3 separate regions of the Homo sapiens genome follow, and regions 2 and 3 are each linked to region 1. The links are contacts of gene promoters, found by promoter capture Hi-C in blood cells and fetal thymus (Javierre and others, 2016). All regions are on one chromosome and are shown on one strand. The core of a region is centred on a gene start or on the middle of the fragment in contact, and the rest is flanking DNA. Distances in the headings are between cores, read along the strand shown.

Region 1 (4,967 bases), core at 291-2,790:
CAACAGCATTTCTGGGATTGGCATTCTGCTTTCTATCTGGAAATATTCCAATAGCCTCTTGTTACCTTCTCTGTTCGTATCAACAAGTTCAAATGGGAAAGGACTGTACGTGTTGGGCGAAGATTTTTCAATTTTCAACCCATGTATGGTTTCAAGGATGCAGAAGAGCAGAAACTGTACACAAAATTGAATGTCTGCACACAGCTCTAATATTCTACGGCCATAGCTTTCATCAGATGCTCAAAGGAAACTATGAGCTAAAAAGGTTAAAATAGTACATGACCCTTCTTTCTTTTTTTCTCAGTTTTCAAATGACACGAAGCCTGACAAGATCCTTTAACTATGTAATGCTCTTTCTACAGCTCCAGGATGCTTTCCTTGCTTTTAACCATAAGTGTAATCTGCACCGTGTGTATTTCACTTCCTAACACCCAATCATCCATAACCATAAGAGAACATCAATAACTCAGAAAGCAGTAATACTCCAAGCAATTTATATGTGGTACTAGCATACACCAAATAATTTATATGTAGTACTATATGTTTTTCTGGGGAACAAACTTTCTAATGTGTAGTTTAGACATAAATAGATGGAGTACATAAAAACTAAGTGATCAAAAAGGTGATTAGAAATAGAAGAATAATTATCTTGAACAAATACAAAGGTCCAGCTATAAAGTAGATAATCCACAAAAAGACACAGAATTGGGAACCAGGAGAAACTCAGACCCACAAAATGAAGCTTATCATGCAGAAGACAGCCCAAGAATCCTAGACAATTATTTGATTCATTCAACAAATATTTACAGAGCATCTAATTTACGGCAGGCAGACTTTCTGCGCTTATGTATTCATAGGAATAAAATTAATAAACCAACAACTCTCTCCCTTTCCTCTTCCACACCCACCTTATCGATAATGCTGTTAATAATGAGAGGATTTTTCAAAATGTGCTGCCCAATCCCCGTGTTGAACATGAGTCCTGTAAGAAAATACGAAACAGCATTAATTTTCCTACTGAGATTAGATATTAGGCAGTACCAGAGAAGAAAGCTGCATGGGTATGGGGAAGATTTCTGCGCCAACCAGGGCCACGAAACGTCACGCCAGGACTGACAAACTCTTTATAAGTTCATCCTCCAGCTGGAAAGGAAGTCAGCGGCGACGCGCAGGGCCTGCGGCCGAGTCGGGGACCCACCCCTGCCTTCCGCGCTCACGGGAGCGCGTCCTGACCGGCCTCTGCCGATCAGGTCTTGGTCCGCACCCCAGGCTAGGTCCTGCCGGAAGACCTGACCCGACCGACCCCAGCTTCCTCGCGGGGATCCGCACCTCCAGCGCTCTTCAGCTCCCGGCGCTGCTCCTGCCGCCCGCGGCGGCGGCCGATGGCCCCCGACTTGACCTTCGGCATCTCGGCAGAAAGCGGGCCCACAGGCCCGGGACGTCAAGGAGGACCAAAGAGGGCTAGCGTGAGAAAGCCACCACGTGGGGATCGCCGCCACGCGCCGCCCGCACCACTCTGGCCCAAGCGCCGGAGGGGCAAGGGTCCGCCCCCTCCCGTACGCTCTGAGCTCCTCCTCCAGAAAAAGGGCGGACCTTGGAGCCCACTGACTGCCGGGAATTGGAGTCACAGAGGGAGGAAGGCCGAACCGCGGGAGCCTACAGATCCCAGAAGACACCGCGCTACCGAGGACTGCAGTCTGGAGTTGGAGCCCTTGTCCCAACCAGGGCTGGATAAGAAGGTGTTGGTGTGGTGCTCTCGGTGTTGCGAAGGCTGTTTAAGTTATATGATGAGGTTAAGCCTATGGATGTTTTAGTAGCCTAGGTTCTGGGATCGCTGAGGTCCAAAGAAGTATTCACGTGCCTCGCTCCTGTTTTCCTGAAGCTTGTGGGGGTGGGAAACCCGGGATTTGGGGATGAGCTTGCTCTTTTGTGGGAATGCATTTTTTGCTGCTTGCCCTGGGGAAAAGAACTGCGAGAATGGAATTAACGTCTGGTTTCGCTAGGGCTACTGGTTGCTTCTACTAAGAATAGAAGAGCCGGGCGCGGAGGCTCACGCCTGTAATCCCAGCACTCTGGGAGGCAGAGGCGGGCGGATCACAAGGTCAGGAGATCGAGACCATCCTGGCTAACACGGGGAAACCCCGTCTCTACTAAAAATACAAAAAATTAGCCGGGCGTGGTGGTGGGCGCCTGTAGTCTCAGCTACTTGGGAGACTGAGGCAGGAGAGTGGCGTGAACCCAGGAGGCGGAGGTTGCAGTGAGCCGAGATCGCGCTACTGCACTCCAGCCTGGGCGGCAGAGCGAGACTCCGTCTCAAAAAAAAAAAAAAAAAAAAAGGAATAGAAGAATAATTATCTTAAACAGATACAAAGCTCCAGCTACAAAGTAGATAATCCACAAAAAGACAGAATTGAGAACCAGGAGAAACTCAGACCCACAGAATGAAGCTTATCGTGCAGAAGACAGCCCGTGAATCCTAGAAAATTATTTGATTCATTTAACAAATAATTCAACAAATTCCTTTTGTGCCTCATCATTCACTCCGTAAACATTTATTGAGCTCCAACTGTGTATCAAACACTGCTAGGGATTCTAAGTAAGAAACTTATTTCAAAGTGTATTATATTGACAGAGATGGACAGAAACTCCAAAACGCTGTAAATACGATAACGTATTGGTCGTTGTGACAGGACAGTGTACCTGACTATAAACTCCGTGTGTACCAGGGCCATAATATCCACATCTGTTTTGCCAGCCAGTGTAATGGCTCTTTTAAATTTTTCTGTGTGTATTCTGTTTGGTTGAAGAAATAGCTTCTTCCTGTCATTACTAAAGCTAACTCTCTTTTGAGCAATTCATTGTGTACATTCCCAAACCTTGGTCTTAGGCCCTTCTTTCTTTGATGTAGTTCTAAGTCAGAAAAAAAATCTCGTATACCCTAGTAGCATCTTCAAGTATATGTTTCATTTCATCAATCATTGTTATTCCACAATTCTAAAGAGTACACTGTGCTAGGCACTTCCAAATGTTAATAGGATGGACATGGCCTGGAGAGGTGGCTCATGCCTGTAATCCCAGCACTTTGAGAGGCCAAGGCGAGCGGATCACTTGAGCTGAGAAGTTTGAGATCAACCTGGGCAACAAAGTGAGACCCCGTCTCTACAAAAAATACAAAAATTAGCCAGGCGTGGTGGTGCAGGCCTGTAGTCTCAGCTACTCGGGAAGCTGAGGTGGGAGCCTCACTTGAGCCCGAGAATTTGTAGTGAGCCAAGATTGCACCAACCTGGGCGACAGCATGATACCCTGTTTAAAAAAAAAAAATTAACATGACACAAAACCCTGTGTGTGATTTGTTATTGTTGTTGTTGTTGGGTTTTTTGGTTTTGTTTTTTTGAGACGGTCTCACTCTGTCACCCAGGCTGGAGTGCAGCGGCATGATCTCAGCTCACTGCAACCTCCGCCTGCCGGGCTCAAGCGATGCTCTCACCTCAGCCTCCCGAGTAGCTGAGACGACAGACATGAATCATCTTGTCCAGCTAATTTTTGTAATTTTTGTAGAGGCGGGGTCTCACTTTGTTCCCCAGGCTGATCTCAAACTTCTCAGCTCAAGTGATCTGCCTGCTTTGGCCTCTAGGTTGCATTTCTTCTGTGAAATAAAAGGCAAGTTTTTCTGTAGAGAAGGAGCTGTGGAGGTGGTAGGACAAGGGGCATGAGTGCGGAGAAGGTTTGAAGATCCTTTATGCGCAATGGGAGAGGAAGATTAGAGGGAACTCAAGAAGACATGGCATGTCTTCCAGCTAAATGTGGAGCCCAGTATCTCCAATGTGTACTGCTGTGTAACCACAGCCTGGAGACAAGAGCAGAGAAGGCAAAATTGTTCTTTTGATTCATCAATGAATGACCACTATTGCTCCCTAGAATAGCATTGTAGGCCTTTCAAATTAAGTTCCTATTTACCTTACTTATTTACTTCCCAACGTTATCAAGTTCCTTTTTCTTCCTTAAACATCTTTATACCTCGGCTTTGTGAGTGCTCTTCCTTTTGCATTCTCGACCTTCCCCTGGCTAACTTTTGTTTGCTGTTAAAGACACAACTCATATATATAATATAAATATATATATTTAAATATAAATATAAACATATATAAATATAAATATATATATATATATATATTTTAAGATAGAGCCTTGCTCTGTCACCCAGGCTGCAGTGCAGTGCCATGATCTTGGCTCACTGCAACCTCAGCCTCCCAGATTCAAGCTATTCTCATGCCTCAGCCTCTCAAGTAGCTGGGATTGCAGGCGTGCACCACCACCACGCTGGCTAATTTTTTTTTTTTTTTTTGTATTTTTAGTAGAGATGGGTTTTCACCATGTTGCCCATGCTGGTCTTGAACTGGCCTCAAGTGGTCTGCCCGCCTTGCCCTCCCAAAGTGCAGGGATTACAGGCATGAGTTACCGTGCCTGGCTTCAAATGTTATATTTTTAAAATAGTGGCCCAGGCTGGGTTGCAGTGAGGCAGACGTTGCAGTGAGTTGAGTTTGCTCCACTGCACTCCAGCCTAGGTGACAGAATAAGACTCCGTCTCAAAGAAAGAAAGAAAAGAGGGAGGGAGGGAGCGAAGGAAGGAAAGGAAGAAGGAAGGAAGGAAAGGAAGAAGGAAGGAAGGAAGGAAGGAAGGAAGGAAGGAAGGAAGGAAGGAAGGAAGGAAGGAAGGAATCCTGAATACTATAAACAAGATTCTTCTATGAATGTATTCTTTAGAATGATCTAAATATGTGGCTGGGCATGGTGACTCACGCCTATAATCCCAGCACTTTGGGAGGCCAAGGCGGGTGGATCATTTGAGGTCAGGAGTTCGAAACCAGCCTGGTCAACATAGTGAAACCCTGTCTCTACTAAAAATACAAACATTAGCTGGGTATGGTGGTGTGCACCTGTAATCCCAGCTACTCTGGAGGCTGAGG
Region 2 (4,967 bases), core at 402-2,901, about 27 Mb before region 1:
CATGCCTGGCTTTTTTTTTTTTTTGTAGAGACAAGTTCTCGCTATGTTGCCCAGGCTCGTCTTGAACTCTTGGGCTGAAGGGATCCTCCTGCCTCGGCTTCCCAAAGTGCTGGGATTACAGGCATGAGCCACCACGCCTGGTCAAGATGTTCCTTTAGACTGAAATTTATATCCAGCATAGTTACCTTTAATTATACAATGTTACAGGCAAAAATCCTTCTTACTTCAGAAGGTAAAAGAAGTAAGTGATTCCTACAGGCTGTATCCAAAACCAAATCAAGTTGGAGGGAGAAAATACTCCAAATTAAGTTGGAGGGAAAAAAATACTTTCCCTTTCCGTTTTTTTTTTTTTTTTTGTCCCTCCCTTCCCCCCGCCCACCATCCCAATTCTGTTCTCAGGAGGGGAAAGGTTTCATTCTCCCCCAAACTCAGACTTCTCAATCCTTATCCATTACCAATTTACCAACTAACTGAGACTGTGTAGAATCTTCCTCTGGAAAAAAGGGAAGTGTATGAATTCTGAGTAGTGAGTTGGTTGGTCAGTGGCGTGTGAAGTAACCTGATGAAGCTTAGCGTGGGTTTTTTATTTTACTGGGGGCAGCATATTGGGGAAGAGAAGGATAACCTTACTAAACCGCTTGGGTACGCCAACCCTGTGCAATAGATATTAGCAACATAGCTAACCATACATGGTTAGTAAATACAACCCACACCTAACTGATGCATGTAAACATTCCACATTACAGTGAAATATATTGGTGTATTAATGCATTTTAATAATTATGGTATTATTTTGATACCTTTCAAAGTGTTTGGAATAATTGTGCAGATAGTCAGATCAACCAAAACCTACCAGTTAAATACTATCCTTTAACTGCTTTCTTAACCTAAACCAATCTTGGAAAGGTAGGATTAGAGGCCAGAAAGTTAGGATTAAAGTGTGTTGGATGGATAGATCAGCACAATTTCATCCATGTTGGTGGTAAGGCTTTTCATTAAGTGTGTTGATGCTTCCCTTTTAAATTGTTTCCGCTTAAATAATCTAACTGTCCTTTCTCAAGCATATTGGTCAAGATGATCAATACCAGATATCTTAAGTGGCAGCTGAAGAGAATTAAAGAGATTAAAAAAAAAACCTGATATTCAGTCCAACCGAATTCTGCTACTGTATTAGCTGAGGAGGCTTGAGCCAACCACTTGACCACTTGGAGTCTGAATCGCCTTATCTATAAAAACGGGGATCCATTGAGAAATTATAATCAGATATTTTCCAGAATCCTCTCCCATCCCAGCTCCTATCTCCCCCTTCAGCCCTCAGGTCGGCTGCCACTCACACTGACCGCCATCTGTGCCCCTCACAATGACACCAGCGTGGCCCTGCCTCCCTTCCGCGCGGCCCCGCCTCTCGCCCCGCCGAGGCCCCGCCTCTCACACCAAGGTCCCGCCTTCCTCCTGTTCTTCCCGGCCAAGGCCTACCTTCCTCCCACGCGGCCCGCCTCTTTCCCCGCCAAGCTCCCGCCTTTCTCCTGCGCGGCCCGCCTCTCTCCTCGCCAAGGCCCCGCCTTCCTTCCTCGGGGCCTCGCCTCTCACCCCGCCGAGGCCCCACCCCCTCCCGCGCGGCCCTTTCCGGCACAGAGCCCACCCCTAGCCCATGCGAAGCGGCGGCCGCCGGCACCGCCCCCGCCGCGCTCCCGCTTGCCGCAGCCTGCGTCGTCTGCCGCCACCGCGCGCCTTCACTGACCTACACCACCGCCGCCGCCGCCGCCGCCGCCGGGCTCGCTGGCTGGCCCGGTGCGGGCGGCGGACTCCCGCCGGAGAGGACTGCCAGCGCCGCCGCCGCCGCCGCTTCGGCCCGGGCCCGGGCCCCGACCCCGTCCCGGGCCCCAGCGCCGGCCGCCCGCCCGGTCGGGCGATGAAGTGTCACTATGAGGCGCTGGGGGTGCGGCGCGACGCCAGCGAGGAGGAGCTCAAGAAGGCCTATCGGAAGCTGGCCCTGAAATGGCACCCGGGTAAGTACCTGTCCCGCAGCCCCCGCGGCCACTCGGAGAAGCCCGGCCCTCCCCGACCTTCCCTTCCCCCGGGCGGACTCCGCGGAGCCAGCAGAGAGGGACCTGGCGGCCTAGGAGCTCCTTGCCCCGCCCGGCCAGTGCCCGGAGCCGCCCTGCCCGTCTCGGTGGGCGAAGCGCTCTGCCCTGGCGCACCCCGGCTCACACCCCATCTCCTCATACCCGCGACCCCGGCCCCGCATCGCCACTGTAGGGGGAAAACTGCAGTCCAACAACCTCACTTGCTCCCGCTACCGGGTCGCAGACACCACGAGGGAGCAGTCGGGAACTCGGAACTCAGACCTGCCCCAGGCTTGCTTTTCCCTGCGTCCCTTGCAGCGCAGCCTCTCGGTGTTTTTCCTCCGCTGCCCTCCACCTCGTCCGGGAATCCCAGATACTTCAACCTGATGTATGGCTCTTTTCGTTTCTTAGTTAAGAAGTTAAGACACGGGAGCTAGTAAAATATCTTTTCAATAGGGATGCGCTTTTTTCGCTGTTTTTTTTTTCTTTTAATAAGCTGTTTAAGCAGACCTTGTACTTCACTTTGGACATGATTCTGCCGGGGAAGGTTTTAATCAGGCGGCTTCCCCAGTAAAGTTTGTATGTTTACTTAGAAGTATCCTTCCTTTGGATGTTTCATTGGTCTGTAATCCAGGCCTGTGTGACTTTTATGAAGTAATCTGATCTTCCAGGCTGGGAAACTAAGAGAGTAGTTGACTTTCAGCTTTTTGAGGTTCATATGAAGAGGCTTTCATATTAGCATTCATCAGTAAACACGGTTACAGAGTATCCAATATATGCAAGTCACTGCACTCTACTAAGTAGATTTGGAAATGCTGAGACAGGGGTCTTAGAGTCTTGTTAGGAAAACAACTTTCTGCCTTACACAAATGAAAAGTTAAATACAACTGCCAGAAAAAAATCGCAACATACATAATTGGTGGTTAGATTAATGGAACAACTAATATATGCTCCAGGAATTCAGGGAGGGAGTTACCATTTTGTATTGAGTCTTCCCCTTCTCAGAGGAGTTTGGACTGGATCGTAGAGGAATGCAATTTGGAAAAGTGAACTCAACAGTATGGAGGATAGCATGGTGGAGGACAAAAGATGTTCCGGGGGACAGTTTGACTGAAGGTGGTGTGTATTGCAGGTCTGAAAAATAGGGATTATGAGAGGAGTGGAAGGAAAGGTCAGGGACCCAAAGTCAAAAGGGAATGGCTATGGTGATGGAGTGAGAGATAGAGGTGTGGGTCTGTTACTTAAAGTTATGCTTACCAACAGAGGCGTGAAAAAATGTGATTATAAATATATTAGAAGAGCAGAAGTAAATGAACTGATGTTCATCATAGCAGTAAGTCAGAAGATACAGCCAAAATTAATAAATGTAAAAATAGTGTAGAAGTATATTCTTAGAGTTTGGGTTAGTGTAGAAGCATATTCTTAGGAGTTTGGGTTGTTACTGTTAGAAATCAAGTTAGGAATTAGAAGGAAGTTCGGAATTCCTTGACTTTCTAGGTGGGAAAGGGTAAATGAAGTAGCGAATGCTGTGACCAAAAGCGTATGTAATTTTCTGAAGAGTGATTTTAAATCAGATTGTATTTCTTGAGTACAAGAGTAGTTTGAAATCAGATTGTATTTCTTGTAATCTTGAATATTAGCCCAAGGACTGTGAAATTTGCTTCGCTAAATAAGGGAGAGTTGTGGCTGGTTTTATTAAGCTGCCATGGGAGAGTACTATGAAGGCAACTTAGTGGATTGAAGAGGGCTGGAGACAGAAGTTAGGGAGAGTCCGCAGTGGACAGACAGGTAAGGGCCCAAGCCAGGCTTGGGGTCAGCGGGAGGGGGAAAGCGCAAGGGGAGGAGATGTTGGGAAGGAAAAATGACCAGATTTGGTGATTAATTAGAAATCAGTGCTAGGAAGAAGCATGCAAATATGACTAAAGTATCAGTTAACTCCTTTGAAACCAAACCTGTTAGGAACTGAATGCAAATATCTTCTCTAAATATCATCATAATTTATGGCATCAGTGTGATGGTATCTGAGAATGGGCAGCAGGAAGCCCTGAAGAGCCATGTTCTAGGGCGGCAAAACTATTTGTAGATAAGACATTGCTGTCATGTTTTCTTGTAACTTCTTAGAAGGGAAGTATTGAGCTGTAGCTTAAAGAACTTTAGTGTGCTCCGGCCAGGTGCGGTGACTCACACCTGTAATCCCAGCACTTTGAGGGGCTGAGGTGGGCGGATCACCTGAGGTCAGGAGATGGAGACCATCCTGGCCAACATGGTGAAACCCTGTCTCTACTAAAAACACAAAAATTAGCTGGGCGTGGTGGCGCACGCCTGTGGTCCCAGCCACTTGGGAGGCTGAGGCAGGAGAATCGCTTGAACCCAGGAGGCAGAGGTTGCAGTGAGCCAAGATCGCGCCACTGCACTCCAGCCTGGTGACAGAGCGAGACTCCATCTCAAAAAAAAAAAAAAAAACGAACTTTAGTGTTCTCCATAGTCAATTCAAAATGCTTTACGTTCTGAATATATTAGTTGTCTATTGCTGTGTAACAAATTACCAATACCTCAGGGCTTAAGACAACAAACAACAAAAACAGCAAGCCTATGTTGACTATATGGACTCCCACAGTTTCTAAGGATGAGAATCTGGGAGCGGCTTTGCTAGGTGGTTTTGGCTTTCTCATTGTCTGAAAGAACCTGCTTCCAGCTCACCAACTCACCAGCTCACCAACCACCAACTCATGTGGTTGTGGCAGGCCTCAGTGCTCTGCCGGCTATTGGCCTCCTTCACCCCATGAGCTTCTCCAGCTTCTCCATAGGCAGCCTGAGTTGCTCATGCTATGGCAGCTGGCCACTCCCAGAGTGATCAAGAGAGAGGGAAAGCCCAAGGTAGAAACTGCAGTCTTTTATAAC
Region 3 (4,967 bases), core at 1,051-3,550, about 24 Mb after region 1:
AAACTGTTTTCCTCATGGCATCTAGAAGAAAGGCTAATTTCCTTAAATAGAACAGCTGTGTTACTTCTAGTTCTCTCTTTGTTGCTCCATAAAAAACTACCCCAAACTTAATGACTTGAAAAAACAACCATTTTATTATACCACACAAATCTCTAGAACAACATTTTGGGTAGGAGTCAACTAGACAACTCTGCTCCACACAGCAGTGACTGTGGTCACTCAGCAATATTCAGCTGAGGGCGGGGCTGGGCTGAAGTGTCCAAGATAGCTTCACTCACATGCCCGGCACTTGAGTGTAACCACCACCCTCCCCCATATTTACATAGGTATAAACTTTTTTTTTTTTTTTTTTTGAGATGGAGTCTCGCTCTGTCGCCCAGGCTGGAGTGCAGTGGTGTGATCTCGGCTCACTGCACGCTCTGCCTCCCGGGTTCACACCATTCTCCTGCCCCCGCCTCCCAAGTAGCTGGGACTACAGGCGCCCGACACCACGCCCGGCTAATTTTTTGTATTTTTAGTAGAGACGGGGTTTCACCGTGTTAGCCAGGATGGTCTCAATCTCCTGACCTCGTGATCCGCCTGCCTTGGCCTCCCAAAGTGCTGGGATTACAGGCGTGAGCCACCGCGCCCGGCCAAACATATTTTTTTTTTTTGTATTTAACTTACCACAAAGCCCATGAGAAGGCAGACAGTTCTGAAACCATATTCTGGAATCTCTGCCCTGCAGGTCCCTAAAGAGTTAACTCAAAGCCAGATACCCAATGGAGGCTCAATTAATGTGAATTAGAAGCAACAATGAACCAAATCCACAGATAACATTACTCACACTAGATTGAAAAGTGTAATCTAGAAATATTAAGTGTGAAAAAGTTTCTCAATTATAGTTAAATCAGAATTCTTTAATATGTAAAGGCAGTGAACGGAATGTTAAAAAAAAATGGAATGTCACATAACTTCTATAAATTAGGTGGTAGAGGACACCAGTTATGATGCATTTCATGAACCCCTACTCAAAAAGAAGCTACTTGTTGAAACAAAATATGAATTTAAGTGTTTTTTTTAAGTGTTTTTTTGGGGGGGAGGGGCATGGTTGTTCTCTTCCAAAAACTGAAAAAAAAAAAAAAAAAAAAGACGAAAAGAGCATATATGTTATGCCCTTTTCAAAGCAAACCTTAGGTCTTATTGGAATTGTTTCCTAATGCTATATAAATGAGACACGTGAGGCAATATACACTCCCCCACAGATGAATAACATAACATTTAGGTTACCAGGGCCTTTCACAATCTAACCTAACACCACTTTCCCAGGTTCATTTATCACTGGTTTCTTCTCAATACCTTCTGGTCAAAGACCACCAGAAGCACACATGTAATTGACAAACGGGGTTTATTATTCATTGCAGTAAGGGTTCTCTGTAAAATATTAGAAAATGCTTATTGGATTTGGGATTTTTTTCTCCTAATATTGGCTACCTTACCAAATCTTAGGAGGAAGAAAGGCTAGATCAAGGCTAAGATTGTAATTGGTAAAGAAGCAGAAGTCATCAAATTAAACCAGATAGGGTGATGTCCGGTCATTTTCGTGGCTTGGACAATGTTTTATCTGTGTTCAGATGTGATTACACAGTGATCATATTCTTTTCTTAATGAACACTGTCAGAGTGGTCTTGTTGGATGCTAATGCTTGCTGAAATTGTGTACGTTCATCAGGCGGACACCAGTTCCTAGTCCAGGCTAGCTCCAGGTGTCAGAGGCCACTTTTCCCTTCTACTCCTCACACATGCTGTACTCATACCAGACTTGAGTTTTCCCTGCCCTTTGTTCTTCCTTCTTTTTTATTCGATTCCCATTATCTTTAGTGATCATTCCCTTAGCATTTCAGTTTTCTCTCTGAAGTCCTTTGTGCTGCACGTTGTTTGATTACTTGTGTTTATGCTTTGTTTCTTCAGCTAGGATCATTAGCACATATCTCTCAGCATTGGCAAAAGTCCTCGAAATCATTGACACCTAGCATATACTTTATTTTTAAAAAAGAAAGAAAGAAGAGAAAAGGGATGGGTTTATTGTCCTTTTCAACAGACTAGAGTATACGGGGTGAAACTGCTTCACTTGATTCAATAAAATCGTTTCCGGTAACAGGCCCCAGGAATCCTAGACCTAAGCCTGGCGCGAAACTACATTTCCCACAATCCTTCGGGGGCTGATAAGGCTCCGCAATGGTCTGAACTACAATTCCCACAATCCAGGGCGATTTCCGCTTTGTCGCGTTTCCTCAAGGCTCCGCCCCATTTCCCATCTTTCTTTTCAGTCCTTGCGCACCGGGGAACAAGGTCGTGAAAAAAAAGGTCTTGGTGAGGTGCCGCCATTTCATCTGTCCTCATTCTCTGCGCCTTTCGCAGAGCTTCCAGCAGCGGTATGTTGGGCCAGAGCATCCGGAGGTTCACAACCTCTGTGGTCCGTAGGAGCCACTATGAGGAGGGCCCTGGGAAGGTTAGTGTGTAAGGGGCACGGCTTCGTTGGGGGAGGGGGCGCTTGGCTGTGACTCGCGCACCTGCAAGGCCGCCTCCGGGCTGTGGCGTGGGAGATGATAGCCAGAAACCAGGCTGAGACGCAGACTAGCATTCCACTTAGCCCAAGGACCAGTGAGGAAGCTGGGCATCCTAGCGCGTAGCCGCTAAAGGAATGGGCAGGTAGATCCGGAAGCCCTGCCTCCATCAGCCACCTGACGCCCCCTCCCCCGCCCCGCAGAAAGCCCTGAGATGGCTCCGGGAGGCCACGGCTGTAGGTGTGTTGGTTAAATCCGAGCTGGAGGTCATCGGACCCGAAATGAAGGTCATTGGAAAATCATGAGGAAATCAGGGCCTCTGGTTATGGAACAGGCTTTTTAAACTAGCTGCCTAAGTTAGAAGTACTAACCCTTCACCTCAGTTAAGGCTGGGTTTGGCCTCAGGTGTAAATAACTTAAACCACATAGCAGTAACAATCTCGGAGGGTCACACGAGGCCTAGTCATAAAGGCCAGAGAAGGTGCTTGGTAATGAAAAACAAACAAACAAAAAAAACTGTGGGCCAGGTGCGGTGGCGCACGCCTGTAATCGGGAGGCTAAGGCGTTCGGATCACCTGAGGTCAGGAGTTCCAGACCAGCCTGGCCAACATGGCGAAACCCTGTCTCTACTAAAAAGTACAAAAAAATTAGCCGGACGTGGTGGTGTGTGCCTCTAATCCCAGCTACTCGGGAGGCTGAGGCAGGAGAATCGCTTGAACCCGGGAGGTGGAGGTTGCAGTGAGCCGAGATCGGGCCACTGCACTCCAGCCTGGACAGAGCGGGACTCCGTCTCAAAAAAAAAAAAAAAGAAAAAAAAAGAGCTGTATTGCACTTAACATTGCCATGTATCTTCTAAGGTGACTACTTAGGACAGTAGTTTTTTCGATTTTCTAAAGTAAGAAACTTCTCACTATTTGACGTTTGAGTCCTCAAGACCATTCATTGCCTAGTGCTTAGTAAAGCCAGATTATTTCTTGCCATGTAGTGTTTTGTGATGAAGGTCATAGGATTTGAAAGATAAATGTTTAAAACGATGTTATGATTTATGGCATATGTTAACCTGATGATGTAAAATATAACTAGCATTTCCTGTATACTTGTATTTTGATTATTAAGCAGATGATTTGAGATTCAATTTCGATTACTTTTTCTCTTTTTTTCCAACAGAATTTGCCATTTTCAGTGGAAAACAAGTGGTCGTTACTAGCTAAGATGTGTTTGTACTTTGGATCTGCATTTGCTACACCCTTCCTTGTAGTAAGACACCAACTGCTTAAAACATAAGGATGTTTCAGTTCCTCCATTTAACAGGTAGTTAGTGGATTTCTAATCATGTTAAAGCAGGCCTTTTTATTAAGTAGCCTCTTCCCCATCACCCAGAACACACACACAAATACATTGTTGTGTAGGGCTGATTCCTGAGGTTATGTGTAGATGTGGCATTGGTGGAGACTAGTTGTAAACCTATATAAAAATATTTCAATAATGGCCAGTGTTTATTGAATACTACTGCTTATCAGGTACACTTTACATCGATATCTCATGTTCTCTAGCAAGCTTGTGAGGCGGATGATAGTAACCCCATCTGAGACACAGAGATGTTAAGTTGTTCAACATCTCATAACTAGTATAATGGTGGACCAGGACTCTTGCCCAGGCAGTTTCTTGTTGCAGAACTCACACTTTTAACCAGGTAAAACTGATAAACTGATTAATGTTACTCTATCTTGAACACTGTTACTAGAACAGTAGCTGAGAATGTGTCTTTTAAAACACTATAAACATTTCCATTTCTTTTAGAAAGTGGTCACTGTGCTCCTAGTTTTTAAATTGGCTTACAATACTTGTTTAAGTTGTGAAAAATCCCTGAAGATAAAACCCTTCTAGTGCTCCTTGATACATAAGTCCCAGATAATTATGCAATTGTAAATCTGTGCCTCACCAACTCAGCCATGTTGGGAAACTCAAACTTTTAAATATACTTTCCTCATTAAGGCAGTGGTTCTTAAATGAGGATGATTTTACAACACAATGGGGCATTTGGCAATGTGAGACATTTTTGATCGTTCCAACTTGGGGGCAAAATTACCAGTGGTGCTGAGGTTGAGAAGCCTTGTGTCAAGGGGATATGTTAATATATGCTCAAAGGAGTCGTTCATATTGGAAGGTTAGCAGATTTGCTGTGTGTGGATAAAATATTTAGCTTAATTGTCATCAGAGTTTCTCAGAGTAATACTATAGAACACTAGGATGATTGGAAAGAGTGTCATAGTTTAGAGGGGGAATAACTTATCCAAGCTACTAATGCGGAAAGGTTGCGGTGCATGTGATGAAGCAAATCAGTATGAATGAATTCATGATACTGTAAACGCTTTCTGATGTACTACTCAAACTGATAGAAAATATTTTCATGAAACTACAT

The links. Contacts are between HindIII fragments. The CHiCAGO score rates a contact against its expected background, and 5 or more counts as called.
Region 2: the fragment with the promoter of DNAJC21 here is called in contact with the fragment with the promoter of DIMT1 in region 1 in 1 of 17 cell types (activated CD4 T cells); the score reaches 6.5 in activated CD4 T cells.
Region 3: the fragment with the promoter of COX7C here is called in contact with the fragment with the promoter of DIMT1 in region 1 in 3 of 17 cell types (naive B cells, activated CD4 T cells and total CD4 T cells); the score reaches 6.9 in naive B cells.

Annotation. Positions count from the first base shown.
Region 1 is chr5:62,402,365-62,407,331 of GRCh38, forward strand. DIMT1 (DIM1 rRNA methyltransferase and ribosome maturation factor) reads right to left here and starts at 1,541. Exons shown (of 12, transcript NM_014473.4): 1 at 1,330-1,541; 2 at 909-982. The coding sequence starts at 1,408. RefSeq lists an enhancer at 1,462-1,751. The HindIII fragment of the contact is 1,140 bases long and covers 741-1,880 here.
Region 2 is chr5:34,927,908-34,932,874 of GRCh38, forward strand. It overlaps DNAJC21 (DnaJ heat shock protein family (Hsp40) member C21), which reads left to right and starts at 1,652. Exons shown (of 12, transcript NM_001012339.3): 1 at 1,652-2,009. The coding sequence starts at 1,913. LOC124900961 (a long non-coding RNA gene) reads right to left here and starts at 1,774. Exons shown (of 2, transcript XR_007058731.1): 1 at 1,742-1,774; 2 at 1-1,226. RefSeq lists silencers at 1,328-1,797, 1,808-1,877, 1,908-2,107 and enhancers at 2,136-2,781, 2,248-2,417. The HindIII fragment of the contact is 5,598 bases long and covers 567-4,967 here.
Region 3 is chr5:86,615,641-86,620,607 of GRCh38, forward strand. It overlaps COX7C (cytochrome c oxidase subunit 7C), which reads left to right and starts at 2,301. Exons shown (of 3, transcript NM_001867.3): 1 at 2,301-2,490; 2 at 3,713-3,856. The coding sequence starts at 2,416. The coding sequence ends at 3,829. It overlaps SNORD138 (small nucleolar RNA, C/D box 138), which reads left to right and starts at 4,866; the gene lies at 4,866-4,928. RefSeq lists enhancers at 1,969-2,048, 2,060-2,725, 2,112-2,406, 2,339-2,428, 2,726-3,391. The HindIII fragment of the contact is 5,230 bases long and covers 1-4,100 here.